2 separate regions of the Homo sapiens genome follow, and region 2 is linked to region 1. Evidence: promoter capture Hi-C in 16 types of primary human blood cells and fetal thymus (Javierre and others, 2016). All regions are on one chromosome and are shown on one strand. The core of a region is centred on a gene start or on the middle of the fragment in contact, and the rest is flanking DNA. Distances in the headings are between cores, read along the strand shown. Region 1 holds the start of NDST2 (N-deacetylase and N-sulfotransferase 2). Region 2 overlaps VCL (vinculin).

What was found. The method cuts DNA at HindIII sites, captures the fragments that hold promoters and counts their contacts. A CHiCAGO score of 5 or more calls a contact.
Region 2: a fragment that was not itself captured here is called in contact with the fragment with the promoter of NDST2 in region 1 in 1 of 17 cell types (M0 macrophages); the score reaches 5.2 in M0 macrophages.

The regions. Positions count from the first base shown.
Region 1 is chr10:73,810,204-73,812,903 of GRCh38, reverse strand. It overlaps NDST2 (N-deacetylase and N-sulfotransferase 2), which reads left to right and starts at 1,306. Exons shown (of 15, transcript NM_003635.4): 1 at 1,306-1,430; 2 at 2,001-2,105. CAMK2G (calcium/calmodulin dependent protein kinase II gamma) reads left to right here. Exons shown (of 23, transcript NM_001367534.1): 23 at 1-403. It overlaps NDST2-ZSWIM8-AS1 (NDST2-ZSWIM8-AS1 readthrough), which reads left to right and starts at 1,084. Exons shown (of 18, transcript NR_182658.1): 1 at 1,084-1,430; 2 at 2,001-2,105. RefSeq lists silencers at 792-1,501, 1,802-1,871. The HindIII fragment of the contact is 9,520 bases long and covers 1-2,115 here.
Region 2 is chr10:74,109,229-74,111,928 of GRCh38, reverse strand. It overlaps VCL (vinculin), which reads right to left. Exons shown (of 22, transcript NM_014000.3): 19 at 1-20. Among named protein-coding and RNA genes, the nearest start is that of AP3M1, 40 kb to the left of the region's middle. The HindIII fragment of the contact is 1,114 bases long and covers 847-1,960 here.

The sequences.
Region 1 (2,700 bases), core at 57-2,556:
AGCACCTCATGCATGTCCCAGCCCCTGGGCCCTAGCCCTTTCCTGCCCTGCAGTCTGCAGTGCCAGCACGCAAATCCCTTCACCACAGGGTTTCGTTTTGCTGGCTTGAAGACAAATGGTCTTAGAATTCATTGAGACCCATAGCTTCATATGGCTGCTCCAGCCCCACTTCTTAGCATTCTTACTCCTCTTCTGGGGCTAATGTCAGCATCTATAGACAATAGACTATTAAAAAATCACCTTTTAAACAAGAAACGGAAGGCATTTGATGCAGAATTTTTGCATGACAACATAGAAATAATTTAAAAATAGTGTTTGTTCTGAATGTTGGTAGACCCTTCATAGCTTTGTTACAATGAAACCTTGAACTGAAAATATTTAATAAAATAACCTTTAAACAGTCCATTGTGTTACTGCTGTTGGAGGTTTACGGCCAGAGGCGTAGATTTTAGCAGCCTGGCTTACCAGGTTGGAGAGAGTACCTCCTCCTACTCCCTTTGGGTACTTTTGAGAATAAAACTTCCTCATGCCTGTAATCCCAGTACTTTGGGAGGCCGACGCGGGCGAATCACGAGGTCAGGAGTTCGAGACCAGCCTGGCTAATATGGTGAAACCCCGTCTCTACTAAAAAATACAAAAAATTTAGCTGGGCATAGTGGCGGGCGCCTGTAATCCCAGCTGCTCGGAAGGCTGAGGCAGGAGAATCGCTTGAACCTGGGAGGGGGAGGTTGCAGTGAGCCGAGGTCGCGCCACTGCACTCCAGCCCAGGCGACAGAGTGAGACTCCGTCTCAAAAAAAAAAAAAAAAAAAAAAAAAAAAAAAAAAAACTTCTCATAAACAGCCTCCAAACAGCGCTCGGTGCTGCGCAGGCGACGCGGGGCGGGGAGGGAGGGTGAGTGCCCTGGGAGCCGGCTGAGGGCCTCGCCCCGCCCCTGGTCCCGCCTCCGGTTAGGCCGCTCCGCCTCTTACTCCTCCCCTCCCCCGAGTGGGCCGGCCCGGCTCCCCCTCCGCGGGGCTGAGTGGATGAGCCCAGGCCTGAGCCCGCCCCTGCTCCGAAGTCGTGGTCCCCGACGCTCGGCCGGCAGTGCCATCGCGCGGAGAGGAGGGGGTGCGCTTCCGCGGGCGGGGCGCGGAGCCCGCCGTCTCGGAGGCCGCGGCTCGGCCCGGCACTGCGGAGGGCCGCTTGATTTCCCGGAACCCAGGTCGCGCGGCTGCTAGGGCCGGAGCCGGTGGATCCGAGCGGGTGCCACCAGCGGCGGCGCGCCGCCTCCCCCGGTGGGAGCGGTGGTTGGGCCAGGCTGCGGCAGAGCGTTCGCTCGGAGATGGCGGAGCAGCCGCGACGCGGCCCGTGGCCCCGAAAGCAGGGAAGCCGGGCAGCCCCGGGACGCGGCGGAGCCCGGGGACAGCGGGGACGCCGCCCAGTCCTCCGGGTGAGCCGCCCCTGAGGAGACCCCCCCGCCCACGGTCGCGCTCAGGCCCCCCCAACAGACTCCCTTGGATGTTGCCACCATCACCACCCGCAGGGTCGTCCCGGGCGGCCCAGCGTGCGCCGCGCCCCGGGTCCTTTCCGCCGGCCTCCCTCAGAACCGCCTCGCTCCCCTCCGGACCGGGCGGGCTCCCTTCTTCCCGCAGGGCTCTCCCAGCCCAGAGGCTGTCTCGATGTCACCCCGGAGTCGCCGCCGCGCGCCTGTGGCCCCTTCCCCTTTGGTGTCCCACATCCGGTGCGCTCTTCGCATCCACCTGTGCCCCCGTCTCCTCTCGGCGGGGCCCCTCCACCCGCCAGCCCCGGGCCCCCTCGGCGCCCGCAGCCTCCGCGCCGCTGCTCCGGCCGTCCCGGCCTCCCCAAGCCCGGGCCCGGCCCCGGCCCCCGTCTGGCTTCGCCGTCCTCAGAGATCTCCCGCACACACCCACCCCGCCCAGCCCTGCTGGCCCTCAGTGTTCACTGGCCCGGCCTGCGGCGCTCCCGGCGCCCCTTCCCTAAACCTTGCTGCTTCTTCCAGGTATGAAGCTAAAATGCAGCGGCTAAGAACGCGGCTCTGGAGCTTGACAGGCCTGACGTCGAATCCCAGCCCTCCCACCAACTGAGCTGTGTGATCCTGGGCAAGGTTCTAAGCTTCTCTGAGTTACTCATATGTGAAATGGGGATAATGGAGCATGTACCTTTTCCCTACCTCTTAGGGCTGGTGTGAAGATTAAATATATGTGAAGCTCTTAGAAGAATGGCTGGCAAGTTGTAATTTCTCAAATACGGGATGATACACCCTGAGTATCAACTTCCCGTCAGTGACCTCCTCACTACAATGTTTTCTCTAAAGTTGCATCACATTCTTAGCATTCACCCCTTCCCGTCACCATTTTGATCCTCTCCCCCAGCTGTCTTCTCGTGTCGTTTTACCTAGGCCAAAGCTGAACTGTTTTATTTTTATTTTTATTTTTATTTTTTTTTGAGCTGGAGTCTAGCTCTGTCACCCAGGCTGGAGTACAGTGGCACAATCTCAGCTCACTGCAATTTCCGCCTCCCACGTTCAAGTGATTCTCCTGCCTCAGCCTCCTGAGTAGCTGGGACTACAGGCGCCCACCACCATGCCCATCTAATTTTTGTATTTTTAGTAGAGACGGGGCTTCACCATGTTGGCCAGGCTGGTCTCGAACTCCTGACCTCAAGTGATCACCCGCTTCGGCCTTTCACAGTGCTGGAAT
Region 2 (2,700 bases), core at 154-2,653, 300 kb before region 1:
TCAGCGGCTGGGATGCCCGGCTTTGTCGATGGCGGGAAGGATGAGAAATAGGGATAGTGTTAGTAAGAGCAATACGACTTGGGAAACTGGGCTTCAGCTGGTTTAGTAACCAAAGCCTGCCTAGGATGAGAAAGAAACATGTTCTCTAGGAGCCTTGTGTACCAAGCTTCACAGAAGGGGGAATTCTCAGCCTCCAGCGCCACTCAGCCCAAGCCACTGTGTGGTGAGAGAAGAAAAGGGACTCACTCCAATGGCAAAGGGCTTCTAGAGAAATCTTTACACCAAGAAAGCAAGTGGCATCCATTTCTTTAATATACTTGATACTAAAGTCAAACTTGACAAGAGTGATTCTCACATGAGAATATTTCTGAGGAGCCAAACAACCAAACGATAGTAGCAAATTACCTTTAAAAGGAATCCGGAGAGAAAAAGTAAATGCAGCCACACAAGTTACTTTGTACAGAACAAAGTGAACACTGCTGGATCATATGGTCACTGTTCTACATTTTCCTGGGACACAGGAGGCAATTTGGGTCAGCTCTGCAGCTGCCAGACATAGATTATTTCCTTCATGAGTTAAAAGTCCCAGAATTAAAAATGATACATCAGAGGTAACGAATACCAAACTAGGAAAGAGGCAGGAAAAACAAACACAATGGTGACTGAAGAGAACTTAAGTACCCCACTGTCACCCAGCTGTAAGGAGCCTCAAGAAGCCACCTCGTCAGCCGCCCATCTCAGGGAACACCCACACATCAGACCAGCTCTCTATCCCCTCAAGGTCTTCTGAGGCAAAGCTTCTACCATCTCTTTTTGCATCCATTGCTAGTACCACCTCAGAAAGCTTCTCCTTGGGTACAACCTAAATTGCTTGCAAAATAGGTTCTCACTCACCCCAAACTCTGCTTATCTAGTTCACAGATAGAATAATATGTGAACTTGGCAAGTGACTGCAGCTGAGCTCACAGAAGCTCAGAAGAATGGTGCTCATTTAAGAATGAGAATCATGATGGAGAGAACATGAATTTAGAACCAGGGATGGAGATTATAAAAGCCAGATGCTGAAAATAGACTAACATGGAAAGAAAATTAAAAACTGCCACAATGAAGCCAAACCATTTATACAAAGAATGATGAATACAGGTTCTTTACATCAAACATCTGTACTCAAGAGGAAGTAGTTTATATGGAATTTTCTTTGAGGTTGTTACCACTCCTAAAAGTCTTAACCTGCACATGAAACCTGACTCCAAAGGGTGACGATGTTGGAGGATTCAGGGCCAACAAGGGGTTCAGATACCATCTAAACTCTTTTGCCTAAACTCAACCAAGACCCATCTCTGCTGCTCAGAAGAAAAGCCAGCTCACTGCTGCTAAGGCTCAGAGTCCCACAGTGTACAAAGACAGATAGGTTGACAGACACACGAACAGATATTCCTCCCCAGCCCAGTACACACATGGTTCAAGTAGCTTCTGACTTCACACAACTCAAAGTCAGCAAACTCCTGATCTTGCACACTTCAGGAGATAGACCTCAGGACTTCTGGCCACAAATGGCAGAGTGGGGCAAGTAATGTGGGCCAATGCTGTCTGCTTTTAAGTTTGTTTGTTTTTTTAAATAATTCATGTATATTTTTTGTTCTGCATAGTGTATTTTGGTTCATTGTAATGAAATTTAAATTTCCTTTAAAATCTTCACTGTCACCCTCCCCCACTCCCCATGCACAGTGGGGCTCTGCCACATGCAGTTGGAGAGATACCATTATAAATAATTCTACAGGTCAGGTCCAACACCAGCAAAGTCTCCCTTCCTTCTTAGAACCTGGGCTCACAGCTAACAGTTCAGCAAAATACAGAGTTAAAAACCAATGTGAATTTCCCAGCCTGAAAAAAATCCAAGATCAGCTGCAGGTGCAGGAGGTCCCTGAGGAAATACAATCGACACAAGAGCTTGAAAGCTTTGAGGATGTGTAAAGAATAAAGGCAAATAGGTGGTGGGAATAAAGATCTAGGGTCATAAAAACATTAAAAAAAAGATCTAGGGTCATATTAGAAACAGTTTAGAACTAAGAGCTACCTTTCACTGCAGGGTTAGCAATAATATTCCTCTTATCTAGAAAAGCTACTGCTCACTTTTCATCATTTAGGGGAAAATAGGCAAAAGTTATTCATAGGGCAAGACTGCTGTAGCATCCATATTTTTACCAACCACATTAATATTTACACCTTCAGATTTGCTGAGTAAGAGACAGCCTGGAGCTGTCTTGAGTTGACAGGTGAAATGATTCTGAGAAAGGACAAAAGCACATGGCTTCTAAGATACCAATCTACTTGCTTCTGTGGAAAAAAAAAGAAAATGCAAACATTTCATCTAGCTTTAGCACAGCCCACACAATTCATATTTGGAGCTCTGATCATTAGCAATGTAGCATCTAAAAACATTTGCAGTTCCAAGAAAGATAAGCAATTTCTAAAAGACCCCAAATGCTAAGGTCAAGGCACCTGGCACTCTAATGGACAAAGGACAGGAATCCTCTTCTCAAATCACAGGCACCCTGACTCTGGCTTTTGCAAGCTTGAAGGAGAAACCATCAGGTGTCAGAAACATCTCACTAAAGCACAGGTAAGAAGAGGAATATGCTATTGGCAACACAGGAACCAAAGGAGAGAGAGAGGGTGACTCCAAATAGACTCTTCTTT